Regions from separate parts of the Homo sapiens genome. Here region 2 is linked to region 1. The links are contacts of gene promoters, found by promoter capture Hi-C in blood cells and fetal thymus (Javierre and others, 2016). All regions are on one chromosome and are shown on one strand. Each heading gives the region's core, a stretch centred on a gene start or on the middle of the fragment in contact. The rest is flanking DNA. Distances are from core to core; before and after follow the strand shown. Region 1 holds the start of HDGFL2 (HDGF like 2). Region 2 holds the start of DAPK3 (death associated protein kinase 3).

What was found. Contacts are between HindIII fragments. The CHiCAGO score rates a contact against its expected background, and 5 or more counts as called.
Region 2: a contact is called between the fragment with the promoter of DAPK3 here and the fragment with the promoter of HDGFL2 in region 1, in 2 of 17 cell types (non-activated CD4 T cells and total B cells). The highest score is 6.1, in non-activated CD4 T cells.

The regions. Positions count from the first base shown.
Region 1 is chr19:4,469,613-4,474,658 of GRCh38, reverse strand. It overlaps HDGFL2 (HDGF like 2), which reads right to left and starts at 2,362. Exons shown (of 16, transcript NM_001001520.3): 1 at 2,237-2,362. The coding sequence starts at 2,308. RefSeq lists enhancers at 6-145, 1-447, 2,937-3,286, 3,547-3,716 and silencers at 2,167-2,226, 2,257-2,436. The HindIII fragment of the contact is 12,260 bases long and covers 1-5,046 here.
Region 2 is chr19:3,968,544-3,973,589 of GRCh38, reverse strand. DAPK3 (death associated protein kinase 3) reads left to right here and starts at 2,491. Exons shown (of 9, transcript NM_001348.3): 1 at 2,491-2,669; 2 at 3,761-3,916. The coding sequence starts at 3,855. RefSeq lists silencers at 2,507-2,636, 3,625-3,919 and enhancers at 2,808-3,439, 3,440-4,069. The HindIII fragment of the contact is 26,550 bases long and covers 1-5,046 here.

The sequences.
Region 1 (5,046 bases), core at 1,113-3,612:
AGAGCTGGGAAAGGGAGGGAAGTGCCTATAAAGTTGCATTGCTCTGGTCTCCCCCAAGAAAGTCAGCGCGAGCACAGCAGGCTGGAGTGGCTTCTCCCCTCCCAATGCATTCCTTCCCCATCCACGTCTCCAGCTTCTAGGGGGCTCCCGATCTTCCCTGCCCCACTCACCCAGCTTCCTTCTCGCTTGGGTCTCCTCAGAGCTACTTTATCAGAGTCCCTGGCCCCTGGGCTCGGCCATGGGCCGCCAGGCCCAGCATCCCTCTCCCGCCAGAAGCATCCTAAATTCAGTCCACCCGAGGACCAGCCCGGCATGCCTCACAGCCCCGCTTCTCCCAAGACCCGCCCACGGTCCTCCGAGGCCCACCCATCCCAGCGGCATTGCCAGCTTCGGACCTGGGCTGGTTCTGGTCCAGAGCACCGTTTGGTGTCCCCCTCCACAGCCCCTCCCTGCTGCCCCAGCCTTCCACCCCCAGTGCCAAATTCCTCAGTCCTGCCCGGCAAATTCCACCAACCTCAGCCCTGGGAGACTCAGCCCTAAGACCTGGGGATGACAATAGCCTGGGGTCCCTGCTTCCCGCTGGCCTGTACCTCTCAGGGCCTGGAACTCACCCCCTCCACACCTGGGACTCCAAGGTGCGGAATATCCTTCAGGCCAGGACACCTGGGACTATCCAGGTCGTCGGGACCCCAGCTTCCACCAAAGGGGCATCCAAGGTCCCCTCGGCCAGCCCCCTTCCCTCAGAAGCGCTCCCACTCCCTGGGCCCGGGCCTGTCTCCATTTCAAGCATTGGGGTTGGACCACCCCACCCTCAAGTCCCTCCAAAACCAGCTTCTACATCCTCCTCCCCACAGGGGACCAATCCCCAGGGTCCCCCAACAGTCCCGATGCCAACTTCATTCTAAGGTCCAGTTCCCCGAGTCCCAGTGACCCCGTGAACAGAGCCCCGAGCCCCATTCCCCCACCCCCAGCCCCTCACTCAGAGGTCCCAGCTTCCCTTAGCCTTGACCCTCAACCTTCCCCCCTGACTGCCTCCTCCAACCCTGGACCCCTAGCACATGGCCCTCGGCCCCCCAGCCCCTCAAAACTGGGCTTCTCCAGGACCCACAAGGGAGTGCTTCAGCCCCCATATCTGACCCCAAATCTCAAGTTCCGCAGTTCTGCTCAAACTTGAACCTTGAGCCCTCAGGCCTGGGATCCCCAGGCCCTCAGGTGAGGGTCCCTCAGGTCCCAGACCCTCCCAGACACCCTGCGCACGGCTCCCTGAGGCACCCTGGACACCCCCAGACACACGAGGCGTGGCTCCCTCTGGGCCAGGGCAACCCCAGATCCCCATGGTGCAGCTCCCTCAGGCACAGAAGCCCCAGACCCCCAGAGCGCAGCTTCCTCAGGCCCAGGACCCCCAGACCATTGGCGCCGCAGCTCCTTCAGGCCCTGGACACCCCCCAGATCCCCACGGCGCAGCTCCCTCAGGTCCAGGACCGCCATTCCCCCAGAGTGAGAATTTATCAGGCCCCAGACCCCCAGGGCACCGCTTCCTCGGGCCCGGGACCCCCAGACCGTCGGCGCGCGGCTCTTTCAGGCCCCAAACACCCCCAAACCCCCAAGGTGCGACTCCCTCGGGCCCAGGATACCCCCAGACTCCCAGGGAGCGACTCTCTGAGCCCCAAAACCCTCATACACCAAGGGCGAGAGTCTCTCAGGCCGCAGACACCCTCAGAACCCCTAGGCGCGGCCCCCTGAGGCCCAGGGCCCCCAGACCCCGGGGCGCGGCTCCTGCAGGGCTTGGACACCCCCAGAACCCCAGGACGCAGCTCCCTGAGGCCGAGGACCCCCAGACCCCGGGAGGGGCTCCTGCAGGCCCAGACGGCGGGTCCTGCAGGATCCGAACACCACCAGACCACAAGAACGCGGCTCCCTGCAGCCCAGGACCCCCAGGCCCCGAGGGCGGGGCTCCCTGAGGCCCAGGATCCCTAGACCCCGGGGCGCGGCTCCGGCAGGCCCCGGACAACCCCAGACCCCTAGGGCGCAGCTCCCTGCGGCCCAGGACCCCCAGACCCCCAGGGCGGGGCCGCTGCGGGTCTCGGACACCCCCAGACCCCATGAACCCCAGACCCCCGGGGCGCAGCTCCTTCAGGCCCAGGACAACCCCGGCCCTCCAGTGCCCGCCTCCGGCCCGGGGCCCCCGCTGCCCCCCCCCCCCCCCCCACCGGCCCCATCTCCCGCGCGGCCTCACCCTGGCAGGCCAGTGAGGGTAGCCCTTCATCTTAGCGAACACCAAGTCCCCGGGCTTGAAGGCGTGTGGCATGCTGACGGCGAGAGGCCCAGGCCGCGGAAAGCGGCTGCAGCGGCGGTAGCGGCTGCGGCGGCGGCGGCGGCGGCAGCGGGAGGCGAAGCCGGGGGCGGGAGCGGGACGCCGAGGGGGCGGGGGAGGCTGTCTGGGCAGCCTGCCGACGCGCGCTTATTGGGCGTTGCGCCAACGGAAGTTCAGCCCTCCGGCCGTCACGGGCCGGCAAAGCCGTCGATCAGGACCACGTGCAGGGGACAGAGAAGGGAGGCGACCAATAAGAACAGAGGTTGGAGCACAGCAGTTAACGGGATTGGATAACGGACAGACCCAAGGGGCGTAACCCAGAGACTCTAATGGGAGGTTATGGGAGGTGAAAGGGAAAGGTGGGAGGAGACGAACAGACGCTCTAAGGGAGTGAAGGGGTGGAGCTTAAGGGAAAGAGGCAGGACATAGACCTCCACAAGAGAAGGGGATATAAGGAGGGCAGAACATTGGATACCGCAGAAAAGAAGGCCAATCACTTAACGCAATGGGCGGGTCATTGACAGCCTCTCCCGCTCAGGAGGAGAGGCTTAAAGTAGATATGCAAGCCATTGGATACCACAAGAGAAGCGCCTCAAGGTAGGGAGCAGGCATTGGCCATCACAAGAGGCGGGGCTTCAGCGGGAACGTCGGCCATTGGCTATCGAAAGAAGAGCGATACAACATAAAACAGGGACGGGCGATTGCCAGCTCGAGGAGGCGGGACTTAGAGGAAGGGGCAGGCTCCGGGGGAGCTCTTAGTATAAACAGCCACAAAATGCACAAAATAGTTATTTCTTCACTTAGTTAAAAACTTAACTGAGTACCTACTATATGCCAGGGCCCCAAAACGCCACACAGACCTATTCATTCATTCAAGAAAAATGTACTGAATACCGTGGGGCCGAGTCACTTGATTGTCCTGGGCTTCGCTCTCTGCACTTGGAAGATGGGGCCCATAATGATTGTGAGGACCCTGCTCTAGACTGAGCCCGGCAACAGGAAATACAGGAAGTATTAGAAGCTATAACTCGGCCGGACGCGATGGCTCACGGCTGTAACCCCGGCACTTTGAGAGGACGAAGCGGGCGGATCACGAGGTCAGGAGTTTGAGACCAAGCCTGGCCAACATGGTGAAACCCCGTCTCTACTAAAAATACAAAAATTAGCTGGGCGTGGTGGCACGCACCTATACCAGCTACTCAGGAAGCTGAGGCAGGAGAATCACTCGAACCCAGGAGCGGGGGGTTGCAGTAAGCCGAGATCGCGCCACTGCACTCCAGACTGGGTGACAGAGCAGAAAAAAAAAAGCTATAACTCTACCTTCCGGCAGGGCGTGGTGGCTCACGCCTGTAATCCCAGCACTTTGGGAGGCCGAGGTGGGTGGATCACGAGGTCAGGAGATCGAGACCATCCTGGCTAACATAGTGAAACCCCGTCTCGACTAAAAATACAAAAAAAATAGCTAGGCGTGGTGGCAGGCGCCTGTAGTCCCAGCTACTAGGGAGGCTGAGGCAGGAGAATGGCCTGACCCCGGGAGGCGGAGCTTGCAGTGAGCCGAGATCGTGCCACTGCACTCCAGCCTGGGCGACAGCGCGAGACTCTGTCTCAAAAAAAAAACAAAAACAAAAAACAAAACTCTACCTTCCAGGAATCAAGTATAACAGGGCCAAGAAATGTTAAGTTTTAAAATTTGTTGATGTTGCTGTGTTTTGTTTTGTTTTTTGTAATTAGGATCCATGGTAAGAACTAAAATGAACCAGGGTGCTTGAGGAAAAAAAGCTGAATAATGGAGACGACTTCTTCTCTCCTGGGGGATCACAGAGGGTTACTGGATGAAGTGAGTTTAACCAGACACTGGGAGAATGAATAGAAGTTGGACATGATAGTGAGGCGAGCCCTGGGAGGGCATGAGGAGCAGAGGGAAGAGCAAAAACAAGCGTCTGATCCTCACTTAAGGTCAGGAGTACGAGACCAGCCTGGCCAACATGGTGAAATCCCATCTCTAGAAAAAATACAAAAATTAGCCGGGCGTGGTGGTGGGCGCCTATACTCCTAGCTACTTGGGAGGCTGAGGCAGGATAATCACTTGAACCTGGGAGGCGGAGGGTGCAGTGAGCCGAGATCACGCCGTTACACTACAACCTGGGTGACAGAGCGAGACTCCGTTGCAAAAAACAAACGAGACCGGGCGCGGTGGCTCACGCCTGTAATCCCAACACTTTGAGAGGCCGAGGCGGGTAGATCACTTGAAGTCAGGAGTTTGAGACCACCCTGGCCAACATGGTGAAACCGCATCTCTACTAAAAATACAAAAAATTAGCCAGGCGTGGTGGCAGGCGCCTGTAATTCCAGCTACTCGGGAGGCTGAGGCACGAGAATCACTTGAACCCGGGAAGCGGAGGTTGCAGTGAGCCAAGATCATGCCACTGCACTCCAGCCTGGGTGACAGAGCGAGACTTTGATTCAAAAAAAAAAAGAAAAGAAAAGAAAAAGCAAACAAGCAAAAACAAGAACAACAACAGCAACAACAAAAAACCCATCTGATCCTAGGATGACTGTGTGTGAGTAGGGGAAACAGATAAAGCTGGAGGGCTGGAGGGGTCCGTAGAGGACCTATCACAATACATTACAAACATAAATGAGAAGTTTGGGTTTTATTTTAACTTCTTGGGAAACTATTGGGGGGATCTGATCAGAGGATACAAAGAGAGTATTTTATTCTCAAAAAACAT
Region 2 (5,046 bases), core at 1,242-3,741, 500 kb after region 1:
TAACGGATTACTGTGTTTCGAGAATCTCACTCTATCGCCCAGGATGGAGTGCAGTGTTGTGATCTTGGCTCACTATAGCCTCTGCCTCCGGATTCAAGTGCTCAAGCAATTCTTGTGCTTCAGCCTCCCGAGTAGCTGGAATTACAGGCGCCTATCACCAGGTCTGTGTAATTTTTGTATATTTAGGTGAGATGGGGTTTCACCATGTTGGCCAGGCTGGTCTCAAGCTCGACCGTAAGAGATCAGCCCGCCTCAGCCTCCCAAAGTGCTGGGGTTACAGGTGTGAGCCACCATACCGGGTCCTATTCTTTTTTAGTAGTGCAAACGTTAAGATGGTATGTGGAAGCTGAATTTTTTTTTTTTTTTGAGACAGTCTTTGCTCTGTCACCCAGGCTGGAGTGCAGTGGCTCAATCTTGGCTCACTGCAAGCTCCGCCTCCCGGGTTCACGCCATTCTCCTGCCTCAGCCTCCCGAGTAGCCGGGACTACAGGCACCCGCCACCATGCCCGGCTAATTTTTTGTATTTATTAGTAGAGACAGGGTTTCACCGTGTTAGCCAGGATGGTCTTGATGTCCTGACTTCGTGATCTGCCCACCGTGGCCTCCCAAAATGCTGGAATTACAGGCGTTAGCCACCATGCCCTGCCACTTTTTTTTCTTTGAGATGGAGTCTCCCTCCGTCACCCAGGCTGTAGTATAGTGGCATGATCTCGGCTCGCTGCAACCTCCACCTCCTGGGTTCAAGCAATTCTCCTGCGCTAGCCTCCCGAGTAGCTGGGATTACAGGCATGTGCCACCAGGCCTGGCTAACTTTTGTATTTTTAGTAGAGACAGGGTTTCACCATGTTGAGCAGGCTGGTCTTGAACTCCTACTTCAAGTGACCTGCCCGCCTTGGCTGCCCAAGCTGTTGGGATTACGGGCGTGAGCCACCACACCTGGCCAACCCATTGTACGTTGAAAATGTAAATAAAAAATATAAAGGCCGGCTTGTGGCTCACGTCTGTAATCGCAGCACTTTGAGAGGCCGAGGCCGGCGGATCACAGATATTGAGACCATCCTGGCCAACATGGTGAAACCCTGCGTCTACTAAAAATACAAAAATCAGCTGGGAGTGGTGGCGTGCACCTGTAGTCCCAGCTACTCGGGAGGCTGAGGCAGGAGAATCGCTTGAACCCAGGAGGCAGAGATTGCAGTGAGCCCAGATCTCACCACTGCGTTCCAGCCTGGACGATAGAAGGAGACTGTCTCAAAAAAAAAAAAAAAAAAAAAAAAAGGCTGGGCAAGGTGGCTCATGCCTGTAATTCCTGCACTTTGGGAGGCCGAGGCGGGCGGATCAGGAGGTCAGGAGATCGAGACCATCCTGGCTAACACGGTGAAACCCTGTCTCTACTAATAAATACAAAAAATTAGCTGGGCGTGGTGACGGGCGCCTGTAGTCCCAGCTATTCGGGAGGCTGAGGCAGGAGAATGGCGTGAACCTGGGAGGTGGAGCTTGCAGTGAGCCGAGATTGTGCCAGTGTACTCCAGCCTGGGTGACAGAGCGAGACTCCGTCTCAAAATAATAATAAAAAATGAATTTAGGCCGGGCGCAATGGCTCACGCCTGTAATCTCAGCACTTTGGAAAGCTGAGGTGCCGGATCACCTGAGCTTAGGAGTTCGAGACCAGCCTGGGCAACATGGTGAAACCCCGTCTCTACTAAAAATACAAAAATTAGCCGGGCGTGGTGATGGGCACCTGTAATCCCAGCTACTTGGGAGGCTGAGGCACGAGAATCGTTTGAACCCGGGAGGTGGAGGTTGCAGTGAGCTGGATACCGCCGCTGCACTCCTGCCTGGGTGACAGAGTGAGACCCTGTCTCAAAAAATAAAATTAAAAAAAAAACAAACCTGATACCTCCCAGTGTTGTCAGTTGGCACATACTATGTCTCAATAAAATGCTTGCTGTTACCCTCTATTTTGAGACGAAGAGGGACCCTGTGTATGACAACCCCAGATTGACCTCATTTGCATTTTAAGTATTTAGAATGTGGGTAACAGTTTTCAGTGGAGGAAACTGCCACATAGGGACTAAAGCAGTCCCAGGGTCCACTCCAGGAGCTGCCAGGCGCGCTCGGCCACAGGTGAGCCATCCATTCGCCCAACCGGTGCTCCAGGAAGGCAGGAAGCGGGATGCAGGGCTTCAGCCTCACTTCTCGCAGCTTCAGCACCTGGGTCAGAGGAGAGGCGGGCGGGGCGATGAAGGGACCGGAAGTCGGCCTTTTTTCCGTCCGCTTGACCAGCGTCGACTGCAGCCAATGAAATCAGGGATGGCGAGTGTTCAGCCAGTGGTGAGGCTGCATCCGGGTGTGGGTGCCGAAAAGGCAGCTGGGGGCGGGACGTCGAGGTGCGGCACGAGCGGCGGGCGCACCGGCCAATAGGCGGCGGGGTTCGTTTCCCGGGGGTGGGCACTGGCGGGTGCGGTGACGTCGGCGCAGGCGCGTCGCGGCGGCAGGGGCGCGGGGCTTCTGGAGGCGGCGGCGGTGGCCAGCGCGGCGGCGCCGGCCGTATTCTCCGGGCTGCGGAGGGTAAAGAGCGGGCTCGGGCCGAGGCTGGAGGGCTGGGTGGGGCCAGAGCGGCGCTTCGGGGGCCCGCGGAGGACGAGGGAGGGAGAGAATCTGAGGAGCTGGTAGGTTTGGGGACCCATCTGGGTGACCGGGCCGGGGAAAGGGCTCGGCCGGGCGTGCGAGGGGCGTAGCGGCCCCAGGGATGCTGGAGCGGAGCCTTAGGGATGGGCAAGGCCTTGGGGGCGGGGGGAGGTTCTGCAAAGGGAGCCACTGGGGTCTGCCTAGGGGCTTGTGCGGAGATTGCGGGCGAGAAGGGGCAGAGGACGGTGGAGGAGACTCAGATGGGGCCCTTTTTGGCGGCCCGTTTTGGGGGGTAGGGGAGACGGCGGTTGGGGGACTTTGATACATGGAGCGTGGAGGAAGAGGTTAATCTTGCGAGGACAGTGGAGGTCAGCGGGGGAGGGAGGCAAAGTGGGCTTTCAGGAGCGTGGAAGGCGTCGTCCGGTTCTTGGAAAATTCAGAATTGGAGGGAGTCAGAGATGGTTGGGGGTGGGCGGGGGTGTTCCATCGATGAGGGTCTTAAGAGACCTGCCGAGGGCAAGGACCAGGAGGGGTTAAGGTAGTAACTTGGGAATTTTGATCGGAATGGCAGCACTTTGGGAGGCCTGGGACGATCGCTTGAGCCTTGGAGTTCCAGGCTGCAGTGAGCCATGATTGCACCACTGCACTCCAGCCAGGGCGACAGAGCGAGACTCCTTCTCAAAAAACAACAACACCAACAACAAAAGAAGTAGACTTGAGAACTTCGTTAAGACATTGGCCAGGGAGTAAGGTAGCCCTGGGATTTGAGGTTGAGGAGAACGTGCAGGAATGGTGGGGGATTTTGGCTGAGCAGGTTGAGAGAAGTCTAGGAGTGAGAGGCAAAAAAAGACGCAGGCAGCGTCGGGGAAATCAGAATTATGTGTCTGGAGAGAGTTTTGCGGGGTGAAGGTGGCCCAGTGGGGCTGTTACCAAACTTTTGAGTGGTTATGGGGCTCTAAGAGGTGACATGACAGGACCCAGCCCAGTAAACACAGCACCTCTTTTTGTCGAGTTTGGAGCTTCAGAGTGGAGAGGTGGGAGGCTTGTGTTTGCTGGACAGGTCTGTCCATTAATCTAGGAGAAAAGGGTGGTGTCTCAGTTCCTCACTTCTGTCTTTCCCTGTCTTCTCCAGGGTTGCCATTAGGGGACTCCTGAGGTCCTATCTCCAGGCTGCGGTGACTGCACTTTCCCTGGAGTGGAAGCTGCTGGAAGGCGGACCGGCCGCCATGTCCACGTTCAGGCAGGAGGACGTGGAGGACCATTATGAGATGGGGGAGGAGCTGGGCAGGTGAGCTGTCTGCCCGCACGGCTGGGCTCCAGGGATAGGAGAGAGGCGCTGTGGGGTTTTCTGAACAGCAGCTCTCCTTTCCTGTTCTTTATCCTGTATGCTGAGAAGGAATGAGTCAGTATCATGCGGTGGGGGAACGAATTTGGGCCGTGGAGTCAGACAGCCCCGGCTGTGAATTCCTGCTTGGGAATCCTCTGTGTGTTTCCTGTGGGGAGAAAAGTAATTGAGCCGTTACAGCAGCCAAGACCGTGCCTGGCATGGGGCACCAGAGCAACAGATGCCAGCTGCTTTTGTTATTAAAAGATGTGTCTTCTGCCTGGGCAACATAGCAAGACTCCATCCCTACAAAAAATAAAAATGAAAAAAAATTAACCAGGTGTGGTAGCTCATGCCTGTAGTCCCAGCTACTAGGGAAGCTGAGACGGGAGGATGGCTTGAGCCCAGGAGTTGGAGGAGGCTGCAGTGAGCTATGATCGTGCCACTGCACTGTAGCCTGGGCAACAGAGTGAAACCCCATTTATTTAAAAAAAAAAAAATCTCCCTGTGTTAATCCTCTTTTGTGGGAGGCACTTTAGTTTTTTTGCCCAGCTCTTGGATGTTTAAAGTGGGGGGAGGGAGGGGCGTGTCTCCCAGCTGGGCCCAAACCTCGGTCAATTGTTTAACATGCTTGTGGGAAAAAGCAGAGGTTTCCTCTTCCAGGGAGGCAGCTGATTTCCTGCCTGTCTGGGCCTTGGAGGGTCCCCCTGGGGCCCCACCCCCTCCAGACTAGCCAGGCACCACTAGGCCCTGCCTCCTTTTGTAGAGCCTCCAGCCTTATTTGGTGAGTTTGCTACTGGCCAGCCTCCCTGGAGCCTCCCCATGATGTCACCAGAAGGGAATGTAAATAAGTGAGCTCTGTGTCAGGCTAGGGAGAGTGCTGCAGGCTCTTTTGGGATCCTGAGGTCCCTCCTTCAGGAATTTCCTCGTTAGTGGCAGAGAAAGCATGCTCCCTCCTCCCCCTTCTCATGCTTCAGTGTTGACCCCTCCTGCTAGGGGTCGTTTGGCAAAAGTCAGCAAAATTCAGCCAAATTTCTTTTAACTCGCCGATTTCACCTCTAGGAATTAATTCATTGGAAAACTGTACATACATG